Regions from separate parts of the Homo sapiens genome. Here region 2 is linked to region 1. The links are contacts of gene promoters, found by promoter capture Hi-C in blood cells and fetal thymus (Javierre and others, 2016). All regions are on one chromosome and are shown on one strand. Each heading gives the region's core, a stretch centred on a gene start or on the middle of the fragment in contact. The rest is flanking DNA. Distances are from core to core; before and after follow the strand shown. Region 1 holds the start of DEFB136 (defensin beta 136). Region 2 overlaps GATA4 (GATA binding protein 4).

The links. The method cuts DNA at HindIII sites, captures the fragments that hold promoters and counts their contacts. A CHiCAGO score of 5 or more calls a contact.
Region 2: a fragment that was not itself captured here is called in contact with the fragment with the promoter of DEFB136 in region 1 in 16 of 17 cell types (erythroblasts, neutrophils, non-activated CD4 T cells and 13 more); the score reaches 8.6 in erythroblasts.

What each region holds. Positions count from the first base shown.
Region 1 is chr8:11,972,400-11,977,026 of GRCh38, forward strand. It overlaps DEFB136 (defensin beta 136), which reads right to left and starts at 2,200. Exons shown (of 2, transcript NM_001033018.2): 1 at 2,146-2,200; 2 at 1,538-1,719. The coding sequence starts at 2,200. The coding sequence ends at 1,538. The HindIII fragment of the contact is 18,049 bases long and covers 1-4,627 here.
Region 2 is chr8:11,730,245-11,734,871 of GRCh38, forward strand. All of the region lies in intron 2 of GATA4 (GATA binding protein 4), which reads left to right. Among named protein-coding and RNA genes, the nearest start is that of SNORA99, 27 kb to the left of the region's middle. The HindIII fragment of the contact is 1,336 bases long and covers 1,542-2,877 here.

The sequences.
Region 1 (4,627 bases), core at 950-3,449:
TGTTAATTTCATTGCATTGATATTCTTTTGTGAACTTTTGCAATGTCCTTCCCTGTTTTTTTTTTTTTTTTTGATAAGGGGGTGGTTTGAAATGAGCACGTGCAGGTGGTCTGATGCCACAGGACCACTGTAGACACACTCACAGACCCGAAGGGATCAGCTGAAGCATGATACCCTCGGAGGCTCGCCTCATGGACCATGATGATCTCTGATTTTTCTTCTTTGCTGGAATTTGGGTGATCGATGTTGAGGCTGGGCTCTGAGCAGTCGGCTCACCCCTGCTTAGCGTTTGGTGCAGAGGTTCAGAGTGTGCCTGCTAGGCATGTTTGTGGAGAAGGGAGATCCAAAACTCAGCTGCCCTTCTGTTTTCTTAGTAGAGAATGAGGAGGGTCTCAATGCAGACCCGAGGCCTCTGCCTCCAGGTGGGAACCCTGGAGTGGATGGTGAGGACGTGCTCTTGGACAGTGCTGCCTTCAGACAGCTGCAGGTTTGGAATGGGTGTAGGGTCCAGTGTGTCACCGCACTGGTGAAAGTAGCATGTTCGGTGTGTGGGATTTTAGGGTGAAACCGATCGGGACTCGTGAAAGCCACTGAGTACAGAGCCATGAAAGCAACTTGGCAACCAGAAGCATGATGGCTTTAAACCACAGGATGAGCATTGAGGGTCTTGCCATTCGGGGGGTCTAGTTGGATTCTTGCCTCCTCACTGGAACCACAATCTAGCTTGATTCCCATGCTTACTAATGGAGAGGTGGTGCAACTTTACACTCAAGACACTGCGTGCAGACTCTGTGGATTTAAACCTGGGACTAACTCTTGTCGTGTGACCTTGGAAAATATTCTTCATCTGCCAAATGGGAGAAATTGTAGATTTTATTGTGTGGAGTAATTTCCCTAATAGATGTAAACCACTCAAGTGTGTGACTGGTGTGTGGTTAGCTTTTGTTTCTATGGCCAGAATATATCATTGCTTGGGCCTGTGAACTTGTATTAATCAATAGAATTTGAATTTTTATTATTATTTTTTGAGACGGAATCTCACTCTGTTGTCCAGGCTGGAGTGCAGTGTCGTGATCTCTTTTCAATGCAACCTCCGTCTCCCGGGTTCAAGCAATTCTCCTGCCTCAGCCTCCTGAGTAGCTAGGATTACATGCACCCACCACACCCGGAAGATTTTTGTATTTTTAGTAGAGATGAGGTTTCACCATGTTGGCCAGGCTGGTCACAAACTCCTGACCTCAAGTGATCTGCTCACCTTAGCCTCCCAAAGTGTTGGGATTACAGGCGGGCAGGCGTGAGCCACTGCGCCTGGCCTGAATTTGAATTTGAAAGAGGAATGAGTGATTGGAGATGGGAGGGTAGGAAAAATAACAGGGGATGCATTTCATGGCAGTGCTGCCTTTACAAAATGTTTCTGGAATTTTGCCAGTAAATTGTCAGAATGTGGTCCTCATTTCTGCCCATGGCTCACTTACGAGCTCTAAGATCCTGACACACAGATTAGGAGTGTAGTACTTTGAGCCATTCACATATCCTTTTAATGAACCCATGGATCTTTGGCTTGCGGGGGTTGAAAACGTGTCATATTTTTACAGCAAGACAGAATATTGTGGCAGAACGCAATCCACCTGTATCCTGGCGGACACCCGAAGAAACATACGGCTTTCTGGCTAGTGCAGGTGCGAACTTTGACTCCATCATTCCCAAACATACCTTTTCCTGAAGCGGGGAGAGACCACAGAAAAGAAAAATCAATCTTAATGAGGCTGGGAGAAATCCTAGGCTTGCCATCACCTCCTGGTTGATGGCTTGTTAGTTGTGATTTACCTCACCTCTTATCACAACTCAGCAAGGCAGATAAAGCTCAGGGTAGCCAGAGGCATTGGAGGGGAGATAGGAATCTGGGTGGCTGCACGATCTGTGTGCACAATGACATCCACCCCCGTCCCCGGTGCACTGGCAGATCTTCCAGCTGCAGCAACAGCAGAGCAGGGCAGGAGCTGGGGTCCGCTCACCATGCCCCTAACATGGTGGCCCATTTGATATTGGTGTCCTGTTGCTGGGCTTATAGTTAGAGGGTTTTTTAAGCATCTCAATCTTTGGGAACACCCACTTTTATGTTCAGACTCACGCCCACTGTCTTACCTGAAGGCAGTAAGATCACCAGGAAAAAGAGTAATGCAGAAAGACAGAGGTTCATGGCCGAAGAGGGCACAGAGTTGGAACTCCCAGTGGTGTCTGCCTGGGAGGCTCCTTTATAGAGCTGGGCTGGGCTGCGATGGGTGGGGCTGGACCCTGGCCTCACTCTTCCTGGAGGGGCAGACTGAGGAGATCACAGGGTTCTGCAGAATTCGAGGAAGAAAAGGCCCTGGCCTTTCAGTGCTACCTCCTTTTCTACAAACCGCGGGAAAACCAGAGACTCAGCTAAGGCTGTCACGTTTCCTGATAGCAGAATAGGAGAAAAGACCAGGATCCCCATGCCTAGGCCTGAGCGCTTTCCCTCTGCCTTCAAATGTACTTTGATATAAACATGGCAGTGAAAATGTCTGCTCTGTCTCTCCTTTCCTCTGGAGCACCACTGAAAGCTCAGGAGCGCAGAGAAAGGGTGTTATGAAACACAGGCTGAATTTAAGCCTGGAAAGACAGTTCCGACACACGGAGTCTCTCAAATTGTCAACCAGTGGCCTGACCAAGAGAAGGTAGGGGCTCAGAACTAGTGGAGAAGGGACAGCTTCCTTGTCTAGCAGCTGACTTATTTACCTGGCTGAAGGCAGATACTGCAAAAAAAAAAAAAAAAAAAAGTCCTGGAAAAGTTCACTGATGGACTTTGTTCTCCAAATGGCTGGTATGAAACGTTGGCTAGGATGAGGGGACTCTGAAGGTTCTAGGAGAGATTTCTTTTTTGGAGTTGAGGAGTTGAAACTCTCCCTTAGAAGAGTCGGTTCAGTGCTGTGTTCAAGGTTGGATGCACAGTGTCCAGAGTGGAGCCAGACAGGGCTTCTCTGGAGTGACAGAGACTCAGCCCTGGAGAAGGGCCCTTAGGCCTGTCTCTCTTGGGGTGATGAGGGATGTCTGAGGGTGAAGATGACACTAACTTTGATTTTGTTCTGACCCTTAAGGCAGGCTTTTACGCAGGCAGCCAACAACCACAGGGCTGTGTGTGGTGTGTCAGTGGAGCATGGTATTCCTGGGTACACTCTGCTTTGCAGGCCTAGACCCTCAGATGCATTATTTAGCATCTCAGCCTCAAGAACTCCTCAAAAAGTGCATTGGAAGGTTATGCGTGGTTTTTTTTCAGGATGAAATGAGATACAGCTTATAAAATGCTTTGCACGCACACTGCCATACAGTAGGTACTCAATATTATTATTATTATTGTTTTTTGAGACAGTCTTGCTCATCACCCAGGCTGGAGTGCAATGGCCCAAACTCGGCTTACTGCAACCTCCATCTCCTGGGTTCGAACGATTCTCCTGCCTCAGCCTCCGAAGTAGCTGGGACTACAGGTGCCCACCACCACACCTGGCTAATTTTTGTATTTTTAGTAGAGATGGGGTTTTGCCACGTTGGCCAGGCTGGTCTGGAACTCCTGACCTCAGGGGATCCACTTGCCTCAGCCTTCCAAAGTGCTGGGATTACAGGCATGAGCCACCCCACCCAGCCAATACAGTAAGCACACATATTCTTAATTTTCTGGTTCTTGCTTACTAATCTTTCCCTACTCCCAGGTCATAAAACTATTTCCTATATTATCTTTCTTTTTTCTTTATTATTTTTCTTTCTCATTTAGCTCTATAACCACCTGTGATGATTTCTGTGTATGGTATAAATTAGGGGTCCTATTTAGTTTTCTTTTCCCCTATGGAAAACCAATTGTTTCAAGACCAAAAATTATTGAAAAGATTGTTGTTTCTCTACTGTCTAGCTGTGCCACCTTTGTTTTAAATCAGGCTCCACATATGCGTGAGTCTGATGCTGGGAACCTTAATCTGTTCTATTGTTCTATTTGTCTATACTTGCACTAATGCCATGCTGTCTTACTGCTATAGCTTCATAATAAGTTAATAAACTTTTAAATAAGATCTATCTATCATCTATCTATCTATCTATCTATCTATCTATCTATCTATCTATCTATCTATCTATGAGTCTGTCTCCAACAGAGCCAAATCTTCCCACTTATCTTTTTTGTGTGTGTGAGTGTCTTGGCTATTTTTGGTTCTTTTCATTTCCATACAGATTTTAGAATCAGATGGTCAAATTCCCCCAAACAACAGTTCATTATGCTGTTAGTCTTGATTTTTCTCTTTTGTGATGTACAACCTCCTGAATGCCTGTGGGCTGTTGTATTTGTGGATTGAATACATCTTGTATTCATGCTGTAATGAACACTTTACACGAAATAAAGTTGGAAAAGATTCTGCTTCCTAGACAACAGTAAAATCCCAAGGACCTGTCTCCCCATCCCATGAATCTCTTTGGCTGTGAATAGCATCAGTGGTATCTGTAATTTCCTCAGTGGCTTGGCTGCAGTTGCTAATGGAAGCTATGGTGAGGCTTTGCTGGGGTTAGGGATGCCAGGTTGGCCACTCCTCAAGCCCTTGTAGTGATAATGACAGACAATGCA
Region 2 (4,627 bases), core at 960-3,459, 240 kb before region 1:
ATCCAGCTGTCTTCGCTGCAGGAGTGACAGGGACGTGGTGTCCATCTCAGAGGAGCCAAGTGGGCTTGCCTAGGCTTTCGATTCTTGTGAAGATGAGTGAACTGAAACCAGACACCTCTTAGATCTATGGGCCCTTCTACCTCTGATGATCTGTGAGATTCAGTGAAGGTGAACAGTCACTGTCGGGGATGTTTTAATGATTTTACTAAAAATCGGAATAGAATGTGAAACAGGGGGATCTGAAGAGTGATTATTTGTACTGTTCTGGTCAGGAGCTGGGAGCTTTGTCTGGCCTCCACGTAGGGGCCTGAGGACAAGAACTAGGCAGAGGTGCAGACAGCGAAGAGGAGGATGGCTCCTGGGTGTTCAGGCCATGGCCAGCCTGGTCAGCAGAGCAGCTGTGGGAAAAGGGATGATATTTGGTGGTAGCACTGAGGCCCAGCCAACACTGAGCGCTTAGGATGTTTCCTGCTGCCCTGGCATTGTTTTGTTATTTATTCCAGCGACTGTCCTGTGGGCAGGAACTGTAATGTCCATGGGCAGGAGAAGAAACCCAGGTCACAGGGACCTGCCCAAGGCCACAGAAGGCCCGAGGCTGGCGGGACCTAGGTCAGCCTGACTTCCCCGGCCAGTGCCCTCTCTGTTTGTCTCGTGTCATCTGCCTTGGGAGCTCACATTTCAGGGCATGTGGCCCAGTGCCCACTGAGGTGCAGCCCGCGTGCCTGGACGGCTCTGTCAGGGCGAGCTTCTCGGGCAGTCTTCCTTCCCTCTCCATTTGTTGCTGCAGGATTCTCCTTTGGTCCTGACTTTTCTGGTTTTTCATTTCCTTACCTGTAATCTGTTCACTCTTGGTCAGCAAGAGAATAATATTGCAGCTACCACTGCCTCTGAGTTTCCTCCTGGAAGACTGAGTCTTATGAAGACCCGGTTTTGAGGAGTTTCCTGGCTGGATCAGCAAAACCACAGTGATCCACATTTGATTGATGTATTTTGAGTTTACATTTATTCCCAATGTTTATTTTCTTGTAAAAATGAGCGCATTATTGATTAAAAGAGAGAGACACAATATCCAAAAGGTGGAAGTAGCCTAGGTGTCCATCCGTGGATGAATGAATGAACAAATGTGGTCTGTGTGCTCAGTGGAGTATTACTCAGCCTTAAAAAGGAAGTCTTGCACTGCTACAACAGATGAATCCTGAAGACATTACGCTAAGTGAAACAAGCCAGTCACCAAAGGACAAACACTCTATGATCCCACTTCTGTGGGGCCCCCAGAGCCGTCAAATTCATGACGACAGAAAGCAGAAGAGGGGTTGCCAGGTGGTGGGGCCAGGATCGGGGTGCGGGAGGATGGGGAGTTAGAGTTTAATGGGTGCAGAGTTTCAGTTTTGCACGATGAAAACAGTTGTAGAGATTAGTTTCACAACAGTGTGAACACATTTACTATCACTGAACTGTACACTTAAAAATGGTTAAGATGGCTAATTTTATATGTATTTTATCACAATTTAAAGAAGAGAAAAATGGAGAGGCAGTGTACAAGCTTAGTAAGTAGAAAGTAAATTGTGAAAACCTTTTTCCTAACACTTCATTCTATTTGCTTCTTTGGCCAAAGGTGTAAGTAGCATTGATGGACGATTAGGTAGAACTAGCCATCCAGAATTGGTTCTACAAGATTGCCTTTCTGGCTCTTCAGTGTTTCTCTTTGCCCAAGCCTCAGTGTTATCCTGCTATCACAGCAGGGCTGATCACTAAGGAGAAGGTTATCCTTGGTGAGGAGGTGGAAAATGGTGATTTTTAAATGTTGTACTACAAGCAACCGAGTTTTGATCTGCAAATCTATCATATTTATAATCTGCATTAAAATTTTAAGTCACATTCATAAAATATAGGAGTGGATGCACTTTTAAAATTTCTTTGGAATGCAAATCAGATTGGATTAAAGCTATTAACCATGTGTAATAAAAGACTGTAGATTTTGTAGCAGCTTCATGCTCTACCTAAGATGTCTGCCAAGTAAGTGAAATGTATTTGTAAAAAGGCAGATGGAACTACTAGACGTATTGTCATCGAACTATTCTCCAGGGGCACTGATTTCAGTGCAGGTGCTTTAGATGGGAGGAAGGCTGAGAGCAGGGTCTGTGGGGCCCCTATTGCAGAGAAGCTCCGTTTCATCTACTTTATATTTGATTTGTAAATGTTTGATTTGCTTGGCTAAAGAATTCTGAGGCTAGAGCAACAAAACAAAACAGAAGGAGAGAGGTTGGGAAGAAAACGTGAAGTAACACCAAAAAACTAACTGCTATTGCAAAACAAGGATAAAATAGATAATTCAAGATAGATGTGATTGATTGCCATAAAGATTCATGAACACGTCAGGTGAACCCGAGTCTGGAGGCTAGAGGAAGAGGAGCCGACGGAATTTGAGGAGGATGTGTGTCTGGTCTGAAGAGGAGGTAGAGACTTCCTGCGAAGGCTAGCAGAGTAAAGGTTTGCTTTCTCCCTTTCCTCCCCGAAGACCAGCACATCAGATGAAAAGAACCCCCCAAATCAAGTAAAACTTTTATCTGCAGTGAAATTAAGAGATAACTCATATCCCCAACTATAGAAAACTGCCGAATATAATATAAATCCAGACCACATGGAGGGAAAGACTTCGAGAGCTGGTCCATACCTCTCAGCTCTCCTGCCTGTTCGCCTCCCAAATGCCCAACCTCCAAATACCATCACATGTGGGTTAGGGTTGCCAGGAGTAAATTTCCTTGTTAATAAAATGAATGAGATAGGAAAGAAAGCGGCAATGTTTTCATTATTTGCAGATAAAATACTGGTCAACTTCACTAAACAAATGTAAATTCCCTGTGGAGGGAGCTATAAAGCTTTACTGAAGGGCATAAAAGAAGACATGAATAAATGGAGAAAGATACTAGATCCTTGGATTGGAAAAGTTGGCAGCATTCTTTATTCCAAACTCCCTCAAACAAATCTATAAATTTAACACAGTCTCAGGAAACATCCCAGCAAGATTTCTTAAATACAACGTGTCCAGCTGATTATAAAATTTATATGAAAGAGTTATTGTACAAGAATAGCCAAGATAATTTTTTAAAAGGAGACTTAAGAAAGGGGAACTTGCCTTATCAGAAATCAAAACAAACTAGAGACACACTGGCACGGAAGCTAAAGCAGTGATGTTCATTGCAGCCCTGTTGTGTGTAGCAGTGAAAAATTACTTGCTGAAATGCAGCCAAGGTATTAGGAATGGGGAGGCTGTGGCATAAAAAGATTGGCATTAGCATTGAATCCTTTCAAATATCATGTACAGCTAAACAGCTGTGAGAATTATGGAGTAGAATGTAAGTGTTATGTGCCTTAACAATGCCAAACTAATAAATCCTCTTCGAAGAGAGAAGTAGATCTGTGCTGATATGGAAAAATGTCTAAACAGATATGCGTCCCTGCAGAAACAGCTGCAGAGGAGTATCCATGGTATGATCCCACGTGTGTTCAGCACACTGCTCTGTTCTTTCCTGTACTGAGGGAGCCCATTTCTGGTGAGGATTATTTCCACCACCCCGATGACACAGGCTTGGCTATGAGACTTGCTTTGATCAAGAATATGTGACTCGAAGTCACTATGCAACTTCCACACAGAGGCATTAAGAGCCATTACGTGGTTCTGTCATTACTTTTTGCCCCCTGCCACGAGGCTGGCATGAACCACATAGAGGTTTTGCCTTCGGCCTGCATGTCCAATTGAAGCATACATATAGAATTTCGGCCAACTTGCAGCTGACATGTAATGTGAACAGCAAACAAATAACTATTTGTTTGTTACAGCATAACAGCTTAAACAGCACCAAACCAAGCATAAGTGTTTTATACATATACATTTGAACATGGCTAAAATATATCTCCTATATCCTAGATACACTTTTCTCATGTGTATAAACAGACATGTACAAGGATGCCTGATGAAGCATTGCTATTACAGCAAAAAACTGAAAACAATCTGAATATATATCAGTAAGTGTCTTAGCCAGTTTAGGTTGCTGTAACAGAATACCATAGAATGTGTGGCTTTAACAACGCTTATTTCTCAAAGTTCTGGAAGCCAGGAAGCCCAAGATCACGGCACTGGCAGATTGGTGTCTGGTGAGAGACCCAAGCCTGCTTTGCAGAAGACCATCATCTCACTGCATCCACTCATGGGGTGGGTGTAGGGAGATATCTATTCTGTCTTTTCTTTTCTTTTTTTTGAGGCAGAGTTTTGCTCTTGTTGCCCAGGCTGGAATGCAATGGCGCAACCTCGGCTCACTGCAACCTCCGCCTCCTGGGTTCAGGCAATTCTCCTGCCTCAGCCTCCTGAGTTGCTGGGATTACAGGCATGCACCACCATGCTCGGCTAATTTTTGTATCTTTAGTAGAGATGGGGGGGTTTCACCATGTTGGTCAGTCTGGTCTCGAACTCTTGACCTCAGGTGATCCCCCTGCCTCGGCCTCCGAAAGGGCTGGGATTACAAGAGTGAGCCACCGTGCCCAGCCTCTGTCTCTTCTTATAAGGGTACTAATCCCATTCATGAGGGCTCCGTCCGATGGCCTGTTCACCTCCCAAATGCCCAACCTC